Linked DNA regions of Homo sapiens: region 2 is linked to region 1. The links are contacts of gene promoters, found by promoter capture Hi-C in human tissues and cell types (Jung and others, 2019). All regions are on one chromosome and are shown on one strand. Each heading gives the region's core, a stretch centred on a gene start or on the middle of the fragment in contact. The rest is flanking DNA. Distances are from core to core; before and after follow the strand shown.

The links. Contacts are between HindIII fragments. The study calls those that stand out against the background at their distance.
Region 2: a contact is called between a fragment that was not itself captured here and the fragment with the promoter of RBP1 in region 1, in 1 of the 25 tissues and cell types used here (H1 embryonic stem cells).

What each region holds. Positions count from the first base shown.
Region 1 is chr3:139,537,350-139,541,904 of GRCh38, forward strand. It overlaps RBP1 (retinol binding protein 1), which reads right to left and starts at 2,393. Exons shown (of 4, transcript NM_002899.5): 1 at 2,111-2,393; 2 at 1,432-1,610. The coding sequence starts at 2,369. All of the region lies in intron 3 of COPB2-DT (COPB2 divergent transcript), which reads left to right. RefSeq lists an enhancer at 269-1,468. The HindIII fragment of the contact is 8,428 bases long and covers 1-4,555 here.
Region 2 is chr3:139,391,511-139,395,739 of GRCh38, forward strand. All of the region lies in intron 1 of COPB2-DT (COPB2 divergent transcript), which reads left to right. Among named protein-coding and RNA genes, the nearest start is that of COPB2-DT, 3.8 kb to the left of the region's middle. The HindIII fragment of the contact is 3,330 bases long and covers 924-4,229 here.

The sequences.
Region 1 (4,555 bases), core at 1,143-3,642:
TTTTAAAGGCACAACCTGACATTTCTCTGCAACAATGGTGTTTTCTCCCATTAGTGGTCCTTCCAAGGCCACTCCCTGCTGACTACCCCCTCTTTCCCATCATTCCAAACAGCAGACTCAGATACCAATCCTGACTGCCTTCAGATGAATAGACAAGGTGGGGGGATGAGTCATCCAGGCTCCAGATGCCTATTCCCAGACATGGGCATCCCTTCAACTACAATCCTAACAGACCTCAGCTATCTTGTTTCTGCACAGACTACCAGCAGAGAAGCTGGCAGAAAGCAGGACTGTGGGCTTCAACATCAGAAGGCCCAGGGCTCAAGTCTCATCTCTTACAAGTCTCTTCCTCTGTCTGAGCCTCAGTCACTGCATAACATGGGGTTACTTATCCCTCCCTCACTGTGCTGTGCTGTAAGATGACTAGCACAGTGCTGGACACACAGCAGACCAGCGGTAAAGACCCTTGGTAAATGGTGGGAGGTGGTGGGTGAGGACCCCATCAATAAGCAAGGTGGCTCCTGGGATGAACATAAGCCACTTCTGAACCCAAGACTATAAAGGGAGAACAAGAGTACCTTGACCTCCCAGCAACCAGATAATGTTGATGGAGGCCTGGGGCTGGCCTTCCGGCATCTGCTGTGGCAGTACTAATTGGGATGTCCTGGGTCAGGAGTTTCCCACCCTTGTGGAAGGGAGCTCTTGGCCCTCCCTCTTCCCCCACTGCTGTTTCCTCTGGTCTGGGCTGGAGGGGCCCTGACTTACTGAATAGGTGTCAGCTGCAAAGTTCAAAGAATGCTCAGTAGGCATTGGATGACAGGGTGGGGCAGGGGATGGCCAGGAGCCAAATCCCAGCTCTGGGGCAAGGATGGGCAGATCAGGGGGCTTCCAGCAGAGATCAAGGGGCCCCCAGCTTCCTGGAGTGACTTCACACTAAGTCATACTGAAAGTTTACACTTCAAAGGGGTTACCTGTGTTTCTTTTTTCTTTCCTCCTTTCTTTTCTTTTACCCTCCACCAGCCCAGTCAGCCAGAGAACGGCATCAACAGACATGCTTTGAACTCCAGACCCTCCCTAGCTGTGCTACTCTGGACATGTTACTTCATCTCTTTGAGACTGTTTCTTCATCTGTAAAATGGGCATATTCATATCTCCCTCAAAGGCTGTGTGAGGCTTAGGTGAAGTCATGTGCATAAAGCACCGGGCAGAGTGCCTGAACGCAGTGGAGACACAGCACATGGCAGCCTTCATAACCATCACCTTCCAGTGTAGATAGAGCAGGATGCTTCATGAGTTGGTGCTGCCCACCATGGGGGCTGAGAGTGGGAAGAGTTTTCAGTCCCTCAGGCCCTTGCCCCCTCTCGGATGAACTAGCCCAGCCCTTGGTCAGGCCCCCTGGGCAGGAGACACCAGGTGGACGCGAATCCTCACCATGCACTTGCGGTCATCTATGCCTGTCAGATCCTCCTCAAACTCCTTCCCAACCTGGAAGTCCATGATGTAGTTCCTAAAAGTGCTCAGCGTGCGGATGATCATATGGTCACCGTCCTGCACGATCTCTTTGTCTGGCTTCAGCAAGTTGGCGATTTTGCGCAAGGCCACATTGACGTCTGCGGTGGGGGTTGAACGGGGAGAGAGAGAGCGCCAGAGAGTTGGCAGGGAAACTCAGAGAACCGTTCCCAAGGTAGCGGGGCCCCAGGAGCCCTCTCCGCCCGCGAACACTGTTAGGGTTCCCGCTGGCTTTGCGTTGTCTCTGCGCACAGCCTGCCTGTGCCTCCCCTGCCGCCCCCAACAAAGTTTTCTGCTCTTATGTTAACCGTTTAAAAACAAAAAGTAGCAAACCAAGCCCCAGATTTACTAATGAAATTACCCACCTCCAGGGCCAACGAGCAGACATTTGCCACCGGTTAACCTAACAACCCCGAATTCTCCAATCTGCAGCCTGGGGGCTGCCCTGGGAGCGGTGGCCGAGGACGCCCTTTCTGGCGTCCGGGGGCACCGGACCGCGGCTCGCCGGGATGGAGGCAGGCAGGCAGCGTCTCGGGAGGGCTCTAGGGAGCGGCCCGGAGCTGCTCGGCGGGGCGCCCAGGGCGCAGCGGGCAGCGCTTACCGAGGGCGCGCAGGTACTCCTCGAAATTCTCGTTGACCAACATCTTCCAGTACCCAGTGAAGTCGACTGGCATTTCGGGGAGTGACTGGAGCCAGTTGGCCACAAGCGGGCGGGACGGCTGGAGACTGCCGGGACAGCGGCTGCCGGTGCTACGCGGGTGGTGGGCGGCCCGGAAATGAGCGCCCTCCGGGGACAGGGGGCTCTGCGGGGCGGCGACAGCTGGATTCCCAGCGCGCACAAAGCCTGCGGGAGGATCCATTGTAGCGGTCGCTCCTCCCCGCTTAGCGAGGGCGGGCGCAGGGGCGGGGGATGTCGAAGGGTCAGGTTTGTCCAGGCCGCGCCACCTTCGTTTCAGACGTTCAGTTCGTTTCCCCTACAAAGGAAGAGGAGACCGGAGACGGGACGTTTGCTTTGTTGGCCGAACTCTTCGGCTGCTGGGGATTTCCTTCAAACGCCATTAACTTCTCACACTCAGCAGCCACTCGGGAGTTGGGAAACAATCTCCTGGGGTTTGTGCTGGCGTGATTAAGGAAAGAGGCCACTTACAGGCCTTTGTCTAAAGCCTCGCGCCGGTGGTGGCTGGGGTCAGGAAAGCTGGGAGGTTCAACTACGGGCGAGAAAATTGGGGCACTTTCCACGTCTCTCCCGAAAATAAAAGAAAGGATGCCGGGCACGGCGGCTCACGCCTGTAATCCCAGCACTTTGGGAGGCCGAGGCGGGCGGATCACCTGAGGTCAGGAATTCGACACCAGCCTGGGCAACACGGTAAAACCTCGTCTCTACTAAAAATACAAAAAATTAGCCGGGCGTGGTCGCGGGCGCCTGTAGTCCCAACTACTCGGGAGGCTGAGGCAGGAGAATAGCTTGAACCCGGGAGGAGGAGGTTGTAGTGAGCCGAGATCGTGCCACTACACTCCAGCCTGGGCGACAGAGTGAGACTCTGGCTCAATAAATAAATAAATAAATAAGTAAAATAGTTGATGTTATTTGAAGTGCATGTGGCTAAAAAAGCCTTCTGGGTGATTCTGATGCACAATCAACTTTGAGATCCACTGCTGCTTTATGCAAATGTAAGCAATATACTGTTTATTAATGTTTCCTCCCGTTTCACCTAATGGCAGCACTGTACTCCACGGTGTTCTGGACTTTGCTTTATTCACTTAATATATTCTGGAGACTTTTCCATAGCTGTACATAGAAAGTATCCCCATTATTTTACGGAGTATTCCATTGCTTATCCAGCTTGTCCCCTGATGGACAAACTATATTGTTTCTGATCTTTCACTATTAAAAGCAGTACTGCAATGAAAATCTTTGATCACATCTCCTTTGTCACCTGCGTGGGTATGTCATTGTGGTTTAACTGCATTTGCCACCAAGTAGATGACATAATCACATGGGCTGACTTTTTGACCCTCTTTTTGACTACCTCTTTTAAATCGCTTTTTGCACAAATCACAGCCTAAGTGACAGCAGATAACATTTTCTTCCCCTCTAGCACCACCTTCCCCAGGGTGCCTCCCTGGGGCTCACATGTGTTCTCACAGTGCAGGCTGAATTAGGAAAAGGAGCCTCTTCCTCAGGGTAGAGACAGCTTCCTCCCAGGCAGCAACTTGGATTTCAGCGCTTCTCACCCTCTTTCCCTAGACTAGGATTTGTTTCTTAATCTCTGTGCTACTGACATTCTAGGCCACATAAGTCTTTGTTACAGGAGCCTGTCCTGTGTACTGTAGGATATTTAGTGGCATCCCTGGCCTCTACCCATTAGATCCCAGTGGCACCCAGACACAAAGATGTCGCCAGACATTGTCAAAGGCACTGGGGTGTGGGTGCTGGGTAAACCAGCCCTGGTTGAGAGCCAGCTCTAGGCCCTTGTTTCCCACTGCTTCTTTGTCTGGCTCTGGATGGTTAGGTCATCAGTTGTTCACACAAGCACTGGCTCTGTGTCCCTCCCTAGCCAGCCCAGGGCTCATCTTGGCTGGGCACTCAGGGCAACCTATCCCAGTCCTTCCAACCTGAAGGTGCAATAAGACACCTCGCAAGGATGGATGGGGCCTGGCCCAGGTTCTGTAAGGCATCCCACCAGGGCCAGCCATGCTTTGGGCTTTCTTGTTATCCTGACTTACCAGAATGGAGCATTGGTCAAAGGCTTAAGCAGTGAACTGGCCATTCCTTGGTCACTTCCAACTAGTCTAAACTCTTCTCCCTGCTCTCTGATGCCTCCAGCCCAGCTAGCCGGATTTCTCATCCTCCCCAAACTTCTCCCTTTATGCTGAATCACCTGAGATGGTTTATGCCAAATGCTCAGCACAGTGCCTGGCACACAGCAGAGGCCAGTCTGTTCTGACTCCCTGCCATGCTTGGAATGGCCCTTTCGTGCTCGAGGCAGAGGCCTGCCCACCTCTCCAGTCCTTCTTGTCCATCCCAAAGAACCACAAGCTTGCC
Region 2 (4,229 bases), core at 1,339-3,838, 150 kb before region 1:
GGCTCAGCTGGGAATGCTTAAATCTTTGTATACCACTGGGCCACCTAAGGGTCTACCTAGCTGGTGTTGCGGGCCTGAACCCTCAAGTGTCATTCTTACTTGGACTATATCTTTTCTCATGTTTTCCACTGCAATTAGCCAAAATTAAGTCCTGCAATTGTAGACTGTAAATTCACTCTTTTAACCATTACATACTGAATGTGTACTATATACAAAGCACTATACTAGGTGCTGCCTTAAGATATTACCCATAGAATTTGGTGTTGGATTTTGGTTGAAATAAATTTTAAAGAAATAAAATTCTTAAATAGGAACTAATACATAACATTAAATATACACGTGTATTTCACTAGGCGTTCGACTGTGGGTTTAAATTAAAATCTTTTGTTTACTTGGTTTAGAGGAGACTGGAAGGTTAGGAAAAATAACCGTTGGGAAGAAAAGAAATATAGACAAGCTTAGCAGATTGGTAAAGGGTTTCCCAAGAGGTTGACTGCAATCGATTAACAGATCTTAAAGTCTTACCTAGTCAATTTCTATAATAGCTATTTCAGCCCTGCCTTTTTGCAGCAGCTGGGAGAATTCCAAGTGGGAATTCAGGTTGCAGTGCCTCTGTAAGTACCCTATATACACTGTTCCCTTCCCACCCTATTCCTACCTCTTCATAAGAAGTTGAGGAAAATAATTCGTTGAGAAAGAGTCAGGGTTTTTTGTTTATTATTTTATTTTATTTGTATTTATTTATTTATCTTGAGATGGTGTCTCACATTGTCACCCAGGCTGGAGTGCAGTGGCGCCATCTCAGCTCACTGCAACCTCCACCTCCCGGGTTCAAGCGATTCCCCTGCCTCAGTCTCCCCAGTAGCTGGGACTACGGGTGCACGCCACCACGCCTGGCTGATTTTTGTAGTTTTAGAAGAGATGGGATTTCACCATGTTGGCCAGGCTGATCTTGAACTCCTGACCCCAGGTGATCTGCCTGCGTTGCCTCCCAAAGTGCTGGGATTACAGGCTTGAGCCACCACACCCAGCCTTGTTTATTATTTTTAAATATACATGTGTTATCACTTAGCTAAGTGGTAAGTACTAGCACGAATAGGAACCTAGTTTCTCCCTTCAAAGGGGTTACAATTTATAAGCAGGAAAGGTTATTTATGCACAAATAATTGAATACCAGGCAGAATATGAGTACCTTCTGAGAGAAGTACCAGTAAAATACTCTGAAGATAAAATATCCAGCTAGGGAGATAAGTTTCATAAAGGAGGTAGAATCTGAGGTGGACTTTGAGGTGAAGAGTATACGGCATGTTTGAGAACCAAAAAAGGTCCAATTTGTTTGGAGAATGGTATTCATTTAGAAGAGCAGTGAGGGAGAAGGTTGAAGAGGAAGCTTGGGGCTAGAACCTGAAGATTTTTAAATCGGGAGAAATTGAGCTTTGAGTCAAGCAGTTGGGACTTACTGGGCCAGATAGGAAACCTGTTTATATCTGTACTCTAGATGATTTGTCTTTTGTTGATGTGTATGACACACTAAAAGAAGTTGAAACAGACTATATAAGTTTGGTGGAAGTGAGTGTGGAAATAACAGTAATAAGGAAAAATTTTTATTAAATGCCCACTATGTACCTACCTGCCATTGGAATATGTACTTTGCATACTGCAATTCATAAAGTAATACTAAAAGATAGGCATTATTTTCTCCAATTTATAGATGAAAAACAGAGGCTTAAATTGATTAAGTAGTATACCTCATGCCACATTGCTCATGACTGACAGACCTGAGATATGAACCTAAGTTATATTTAATGATACTAACATCTTTTTTTACTGGATTGTAATTTCTCCTTTTTTCCCTGAGAAGCTAGAATCAACTGGATACACAAATGCGTTTGTTGAATTGAGGGAGTGGGAGGCATCCTATTGCTGATGTTTTTAATCTAATGAACCCAGAAGAATATCTTTAATCAGAGGAAGATGTGGAGCCAGTGAATGATAGTGGAGCCAATGAAGGAACAATCAGAGAAAGAGAATCAGGAAAGAAGAAAAAGTGAAAGAAAAAGAAGTGGAGTCAGTGTAGGAACAATCAGAATAAGAGACCCAGAATAACTTTATGTCACAGAAGGAAAAGAAAGGGAAAATGTGACTGGGTGACTAGCATCTTGATAGCTTTAGAGAATTTAAGGAGGCTTAGTATTTGCCAAAACTATTGCCAATGAAATAAATGATTATGAGGACACTATCAGCCTTCAAAAAAGTTGAGTAATGGTAGGGAAGGCAAGTTTACAAAGGGTTTAGAAATTATTGGATGATAAAAAAAGTAGAGGTCATCAGTATAAACTATTTTACCAAGCGATTAGTGAAGAAAGGCAAATGTTGATGTGAGAGGTGTCTCACTGTAAGTGGGTTGACTGTTCCTGCATTTAGGGCATGCTTGATTTAATTATGATAGGCTCCAAATGGATGCAGGCCACTAAATGGACCTTTGTAGTGTGAGTAGGAACTAGCCAGGTAAATGTCAAGAGAGTATATCTAGAGCATTTGACTTTTCCAGAGAGCTAAGAATAGTTCAGCATGCCTGGGCCAGAGAGTAAGAAGGGGGAGGATTGAGAAATGGTATTAGAAAGATAAATGAGATTCAGATTCTGAAGATCCATGATAGCCAGTTAAAGGAGTCTGGACTTTATCCTGTAGGCTCTGGGGAACCATTTAAGAATGTTAAGTAGGGTAATCTTCATGCTCCATTACTGATACATCATCACATGTCAGTTACTTTTCCTGTTAGAGGAAATGTTAAGATTATCAGCCTGATTTCTGTATGAGGTGAATGAAAGCAAAAGTTTTGACCACATAGTCAAGTAGCAGCCAGCAGCAGACTAAATTGAGTTGGAGATCCACTGAACTGTCTTCCAAGAAAAATGGAGTTTGTGGTTGCCCAACACTTAGAGGCAAATGTTGGACTGATTGCAAAAGCATTGACCAACCACAATGTGCTGTACACTTCATGTGACTACCTTCTAAACATTTTAAATTTGTTAAATTTACTCCATGGGAGTTTGATGTAGAATTCCAGATGCAGAGGATGCTAACTTTTGTTTACCTGAAAGTGTAAAAATCCAGATTATTAGTAATGTGTTTGACTTGTGTTAATTTTACCTTAAAAATTACATTAACCTTATGTTTTTCTAATGAGTATTTTTAGAGGAGTCAAAGTTTAAAGTGAGCTTTGAATGAAACAAAGGAGGTGATTTCATAGATGGGAATTGCTAGACATTGTAAATATGGCAGTAGACTGGGGAGTTTGTTAGTGATCTCCACAGTTCTCCATCTGCGGATTCGTTCTCTACCCCACTCTTCACTCATGGGGTACAGACCCCATGGTAAGTCATGACCAGTGGGCTCTGGGTACTTCTTTGCCCCAGGGTTGTCAAGTGAAGTGAATCTCTGGGTCTTAGTTTTATTACCTACAAAATAATAATGGACAGCATTAGCTCCAAAGTCTCTTCCTGTTGTAAGCTTTTTTATACTTTTGAGTCTGTGATTCTATGTTCTTGTCAAACGAAGTGGATGAGGGGAGTGCCTGCAGGGTGTTTTAATGGGCATTTGTCTTTACTTAATTCAAGTGCCAGTGTAGTAGCGTTTCCCACATCTTTCATAGCATGCATTGTTCTTTTTCTCTGGAAGCCACCTTCCATCAGCAAATTTTTGTTGAGATTTTGTTGTGCTTGGAACAATGCTCTACAAACCTGAGGCTCCTGGGGCTCAGGACAAGGAGGCTGGTAGGCATGAGGGGACAAGGAATACAGGCCAAGTGTGCCTGGTATGTAGAGGTCCCAGGTGAACATTCTCTCAACCAATGTTTAACTTTCTTTCTAGGAAAAAGATTTCACAAAGTTTTATATAAGCAAGTAGATAGGTTTAGAGTAATTATGTTTCATTAAGAATTATGTCCTTGGAAATGACAGTGCTGCATATAAATAAATGAATAATAATGATGAATAGCCTGAATATCTGGCATATAGCAGTTACCTTTAAATTAATTGAAAAAAAATTTAATGTAAAAGTGAAATATCTGGAGTGACAAGGCACTGCACAGTGTGATTTTCATCAAATTGCTTTATTCCTCTTTCTTCTGAAGCATTTGTCAGTTCAAGTTGATCTAAGGGCATTACTGAATTTGAATTCAAATGTACTCCAAGTCCCAAGGTTTAAAAATGAATTCCTGGGGTTCT